2 separate regions of the Homo sapiens genome follow, and region 2 is linked to region 1. The links are contacts of gene promoters, found by promoter capture Hi-C in human tissues and cell types (Jung and others, 2019). All regions are on one chromosome and are shown on one strand. The core of a region is centred on a gene start or on the middle of the fragment in contact, and the rest is flanking DNA. Distances in the headings are between cores, read along the strand shown.

The links. Contacts are between HindIII fragments. The study calls those that stand out against the background at their distance.
Region 2: a fragment that was not itself captured here is called in contact with the fragment with the promoter of ITPKA in region 1 in 1 of the 25 tissues and cell types used here (dorsolateral prefrontal cortex).

The regions. Positions count from the first base shown.
Region 1 is chr15:41,492,264-41,495,486 of GRCh38, forward strand. ITPKA (inositol-trisphosphate 3-kinase A) reads left to right here and starts at 1,611. Exons shown (of 7, transcript NM_002220.3): 1 at 1,611-2,153. The coding sequence starts at 1,665. RefSeq lists enhancers at 513-1,013, 1,014-1,514 and silencers at 1,251-1,870, 1,891-2,070, 2,181-2,230. The HindIII fragment of the contact is 23,030 bases long and covers 1-3,223 here.
Region 2 is chr15:42,948,973-42,952,195 of GRCh38, forward strand. It overlaps UBR1 (ubiquitin protein ligase E3 component n-recognin 1), which reads right to left. Exons shown (of 47, transcript NM_174916.3): 46 at 1,290-1,391. Among named protein-coding and RNA genes, the nearest start is that of TTBK2, 30 kb to the left of the region's middle. The HindIII fragment of the contact is 4,048 bases long and covers 1-3,223 here.

The sequences.
Region 1 (3,223 bases), core at 361-2,860:
TTTTTTTTTTTTTTGAGACAAGTTATCACTCTGTTGCCCAGGCTAGAGTGTGGAGTGTGGTGGTGGAGTGTGGTGGTGATCTCAGCTCACTGCAGCCTCGACCTCCCAGGCTCAAGTGATCCTTCCACTTCAGCCTCTCCCCGAGTAGCTGAGACTACAAGTGCACACCACCACACCTGCCTAATATTCTGTATTTTTAGTAGAGACAGGGTTTTGCCATGTTGCCCAGGCTGGTCTCGAACTCCTGGGATCAAGCAATCTGCCCGCCTTGCCCTCCCAAAGTGCTGGGGTTACAAGCCTGAGCCACTATGCTTTGCCGAAGATTCCCGTCTTCCCACTGAACCTTCTTCTTTCCTTCTCCTGGGCCATTCCTGAGCCCTGGCTGAGGGGAGAGAAGGGAAGGAAAGCCCCTCCTGCGGCCATCTCAGCATCCAAGGCAATCCTTCTGGGGCTGCTCTGTCTCCAGGGCCCCAGCCATCCCCAGACACTGAGTGCCTGAGGGGGGACCCTCACTCCTGTGGCACTATGGTAAGATAGGAAACAGTGGCTTCTCCTCAAAGCAGCCTCGCCGGTCGGTCAGCTGACTACCAACATGGGAAGTGGCCGAAGATCCACATGGAATGACACTGATAAGCACTTTGCAGTGTCTGAAACTCTTAAACATCAGTGCTGTCTTCCTAGTTTTACAGACACAACTCTGTGGGTTGGATGAGGTTTTTCTAAATGTACAAATGCAGAAATATACGGAGGGAGTAAAGGGACTGCCTACAAATCACATCTAGAGTGTGGTGTACCTGATTTCAAGTCTTTTATTTTATTCTCGCAGCAACGGGAGAATCCGCAGTCGAGGGAGGTGAAATGACTTGCTGAACGCCACACGGCGGACTCCAAGCCCCGAGCTCCTATAACAGAGGAGGAGGAAGGCGGGCTCAGCTCCTGCCACCCAGCAGCGGGGGAGATGCAGCCCGGGACTAGGCTGGGCCATGGGGACAGATCCAGGCCCCGCCCCCTGACCTTGTTCTCTGCCCGCCGGGAAGTGGGGAACTTGCGGGGAGCAGCCTCAGCTAGTCCCTGGGGCAGAGTCTCCACTTGGGTGCACGCCCTGGGGTGGGGCTTCTTCGGGAAGCCGGGGGCCTTCAACTCTGCTCAGGAGCTCGGGCCGGAGAAAGGCCCCGAGACTTGAAGCCCTTGCCCGGGAGGGATGAACACGCAAAGGAACCCGAGGAACGGGGTAGGGGACCAAGAGTAGGACCAGCTTCTCCTGCGCGGGGACAGGGCCTGTGGAGCGGCCTGGAGGAATCTCTCCCAGCCGCGAAGCCCGGGAAGGCTGCGAGGCCCCAGCGCGGAGCGGCCCCTCCCACCTCCCCGAGGGCAGGCGGAGCGAAGCCTCGGGGCCCGGGCCCAGGTTTTGTGCCTACGGAGGCTGGACTTCCCCGCCACCCCGAGGAGTCACCGAGAGCCTTCTCTCCCTCGCAGGGGCCCTGGGAGGCCCGCGCTTTCTCTGAAAGTGGAAGGAGTGGGCGGGGGGCGCGGCCGAGGCGGGGCGCGGGCGTGCAGCGGCGCAGGCTCCGCCCCGGGGCCGTCTCCAGCCGGGGGCGCCGAGCCGCTCCAGTCCCCGGCGCGCCGCGGGCTGGTGGGCTCAGCGGCGGCGCCGGCACTGGGAAATGACCCTGCCCGGGGGCCCAACGGGCATGGCGCGGCCGGGGGGCGCGAGGCCCTGCAGCCCGGGGCTGGAGCGGGCCCCGCGCCGGAGTGTCGGGGAGCTGCGCCTGCTCTTCGAGGCGCGCTGTGCGGCGGTCGCTGCGGCCGCCGCCGCGGGGGAGCCCCGGGCCCGCGGGGCCAAGCGGCGTGGGGGACAGGTCCCCAACGGGCTTCCGCGGGCTCCCCCGGCCCCGGTGATCCCTCAGCTGACCGTGACAGCCGAGGAGCCCGACGTGCCCCCGACCAGCCCTGGGCCGCCGGAGCGGGAGAGGGACTGCCTCCCGGCAGCGGGCTCTTCGCACCTGCAGCAGCCGCGCCGCCTTTCCACCTCGTCGGTCTCCTCCACTGGCTCCTCGTCGCTGCTCGAGGACTCGGAGGACGACCTGCTGAGCGACAGTGAGAGCCGGAGCCGCGGCAACGTGCAGCTGGAAGCGGGCGAGGACGTGGGTCAGGTACGGGCCGCGGGGGCGGGGCCAGCGCCGGGCGCGGGGGCTGCACGGGGGACCTGGCTGGGTGCTCCCGGAGGACCCGCTCCTGTCCATGCTCCCTCCAGCGGAAGGTCCTGTTCTCGCGGTTTAGGAGGAATCTGGGGGTCAGAGGGAGGCGCCTGGCCGACCTCTCGCCTGGGCAACTTTCACCTCGGCTCCGCCGGCGGGTCGTGGCGCTGGCCCTGGGGCGTCTAAGAAGCGGGGCGAGGAGCAGGCGACCCGCCGCGGGGACTGGGCGAAGCGGGGGTAGCGGACCTTGTTGGCTGTGGGTTAGGACAGGAGGGATCGGAGGGGCTGAGCCTTGCCGGGTGAACCCTCGGAAGGAGAGAGGCGAAGGAGAGTTTCCCTTACCCCCCGCCCCCTCTCCGGTGCCGCGGCCGCACCCCCGCCGTTGCCACGGTTTCCCTCTCCTGAGTGGGAGTGGAGCGGCGCTCCAGGCTCTGCTCGGGAGCCGCTGCCGTCTGCTCCCAGCGCCCGCACGAGGCGTGGACGCAGGGGAGGGAGGGGCGTGGGCCTGGGAGCTCTGGCTGGGAGCGGAACGCAGCCCACCCAGTGCGCGCCCTGCCTCCCATCTTCCCGGCTCGCCGCTCCTGAGCGCGGCAGAGAGGGGCGGTAAACTGAGGCTGCAAGGGGGCAGGATCACTCTGCTAGTCTCTGCCTCTGATAGCCTGGGTGTTCTGGGACCAGGTCTGACCCTCGGAAAACACAGCCCTGGGCACTGTTAAGTCATTCCTGACGCCCGCCACTTAGGGATGTGCGGCTCCCGGGACACCCTCCTTGTTCCCCTCGTTTTAACCAAGGCCAAATACCTTGAATAACTGTCCGTGGTCAGCGCGAAGGACTTTCTTTAGATCCACGTTTCGCAAGTGTCCCTGAGGCCGAGGAAGAGGCGAGGGGCGCCCCCGGCCTCGGGCGTCTGGGGCCTGCCCATAAGTCCGGGTCGGCGCGGCGGGGCGGGGAGAGCTGTGGCCGCGCGCCTGCTCCGCCGCACAATCGGCTGGGACAAGGCAGGGAAGCTGTGGCGACCTGCAGGG
Region 2 (3,223 bases), core at 290-2,789, 1.5 Mb after region 1:
TGCACACGTATGTTTATTGCGGGACTATTCACAATAGCAAAGACTTGGAACCAACCCAAATGTCCAACAACGATAGACTGGATTAAGAAAATGTGGCACATATACACCATGGAATACTATGCAGCCATAAAAAAGGATGAGTTCATGTCCTTTGTAGGGACATGGATGAAATTGGAAATCATCATTCTCAGTAAACTATTGCAAGGACAAAAAACCAAACACCATATGTTCTCACTCATAGGTGGGAATTGAACAATGAGAACACATGGACATAGCAAGGGGAACATCACACTCTGGGGACTGTTGTGGGGTGGGGGGAGGGGGGAGGGATAGCATTTGGAGATATACCTAATGCTAAATGATGAGTTAATGGGTGCAGCACACCAACATGGCACATGTATACATATGTAACTAACCTGCACATTGTGCACATGTATCCTAAAACTTAAAGTATAATAATAATAAAATAAAATAAAAAAAAAATTATGTGCTAAAGAATGACATCATATTTTTTAAATTTGAAGCCATTTAAAAGATAGCTCTCAGCCGGGCATGGTGGCTCATGCCTGTAATCCCAGCACTTTGGGAGGCTGAGGTGGGTAGATCACTTGAGGTCAGGAATTCCAGACCAGCCTGGCCAAGATGGTGAAACCCTGTCTCTACTAAAAATACAAAAATTAGCTGGGCATAGTGGCACATGCCTGTAGTCCCAGCTACTCGGGAGGCTGAGGTGGGAGATTCACTTGAACCCAGGAGGCAGAGGTTGCAGTGAGCTGAGATAGCGCCACTGCACTGTAGCCTGGGTGAAACAGGGAGACTCTGTCTCCCAAAATAAATAAATAAATAAATAATAAAAATAAAAAGTAGCTCTCAATTACTTTTTTTTTTTTTTAGACAGAATCTCCCTCTGTTGCCCAGGCTGGAGTGCAGTGGGCGATCTTGGCTCACTGCAACCTCCTGGGTTCAAGTGATTCTCCTACCTCAGCCTCCCAAGTAGCTGCGATTACAGGCATGCACCACCATGCCCAGCTAATTTTTGTATTTTTAGTAGCGACGGGTTTTCACCATGTTGGCCAGGCTGGTCTCAAACTCCTGGCCGCAAATGATCTGCCTGCTTCGGCCTCCCAAAGTGCTAGGAATACAGGTATAAGCCACGGTGTCTGGCCTCAATTACCTTTTGTGATTAAAGAACTATTACCGTTTACATACAATAATGTGACTGAAATAGAAAACAATCAACATAAAAGAGAACTTACTGAAACCTTCCTATTATATAAAAAAAATCTTACTTCAGGCCAGGGTCTGTTTCTCCATATTCATCCAAGTAAGGAGCTGGATAGGCACAGCCTCTGGCTTTACCTTCAACCAGGACCACTCGGCATTCTCTGATTCTGAAAGAGAAAATCAATAGGAAATATGGTTAAGTGTATGTGTGCAAATGATAGGCACTGCATCAATGTTAACCTAGAGAAAAGACGTGGCCAATATCTGTTAGATATTCAGTAAAAAGACAATATAAACAGACAAATAGACTAAATTATGTTTTGTCTAAATAAAAGAGAACACTTATTGCTATTTCTGTTGAAGCTATAGAAAAGGAGCAGTGGATTTGGTGAAATGAGATCATTTATACTGACGGAATCTGTTGAAGGGAGGAAACTGTCCTACTTCAGCCACAGACACCTTGGAAAATGGTGGCTGGGGTTGTTTCTATTCTAATTCCTGACACAACCTGGAGAGGGGAGGGAACCTCACAGAAGAACAGAATCACATCTCCTAGTCTGATAACCTCAAGCCAGACAGAATATCAACTAGGGAAGTATGCCAGCTTTTCTGGTTAGAGCTGGCCTGAAACACTGCAGATTAAAAGAGCCACTACCACCCTGAAGGCACCTGGGACTTTTATGTCTCTTGGGAAATAGACATAAAAAAGGCTTGCGTACACATATATGGGGGATAAGTACTTTACAGATAAATTATAAAATAAACAGCTGGGATAAGGTAGTGGGTTTACTTGCTGTGGGTTCCCTAAAAATAGGTGTTTGGGTTTGGCTTCCATACATTCTTTCCCCTTGGTTCAAAAGATGCCTATGAACAATGATTACATATTTCACAGTTAGAAAGACATTTGGCTTTATGTAACAGAAACTGTGTTACATGAGGAGAGTGGAAAGAAAAAGGATATATATCCACTTTGAATTTTATTTCTCTGCAGGCAACTTAAACTCTTTTTTCATAAATATAAGTGACTATTTTTCTTTTTTTTCCCAGATAGAGTCTTGCTCTGTCAACCAGGCTGGAGTGCAGTGGTGTAATCTCGGCCTACTGCAACCTCCACCTCCCAGGTTCAAGCGAATTCTCCTGCCTCAACCTTCTGAGTAGCTTGGATTACAGGCATGCGCCACCACGCCCAGCTAATGTTTGTCTTCTTAGCAGAGATGGGGTTTCACCACGTTGGCCAGGCTGGTCTTGAACTCCTGACCTTGTGATCTACCTGCCTCGGGCCTCCCAAAGTGTTGGGATTAAAGGCGAGAGCCACCGCGCCCGGCCATAAGTGACTATTTTTCTATCCTCAATCTTTTGCTGAAAGACCAGGAGAAATGGTGGGTTGATAGATGAAATAAAGATATCACAGGACAATCTAAAGTAAAAATTTACATGTACTTTTTTTTTTGATAGAGGATCTCACTCTGTTGCCCAGGCTAGAATGCAATGGCACGATCATGGCCTTGAACTCCCAGGCTCAAGCAGCCCATCCACCTCAGCCTCTCAAGTAGCTGGGACTGCAGCCATGTGCTACCATGCCTGGCTAATTTTTTATAGAGATGGGGGTCTCGCCTTGCTGCCCAGGCTGATCTTGAACTCCTGACCTCAAGTGATCCTCTTGCCTCAGCCTCCCAAAGTGCTGGGATTATAGGCATAAGTCACTGTGCCTGGCCTACATGTACCTTTTATTTGTTTATTTTTATTTATTTTAAAGAGCTCATCTTCCAGGAAGAGTACTTTTTAAATACAAGTTTTAGGACTTGAAGTTCTTTCATTACACCTGAGTATTATATAATACCAGAGCAATTAATACAAACTCTATCCTATTTAAGATTTTCCATAAATAATGGAAATGTGAACAGAAACTTATTCTTTTTTCACAGTATCTTCTCAAATGCAATTTCATGTCAATAACAGGTTAATACTCTAACTTCTGATTGATTATTTGCTATCAACA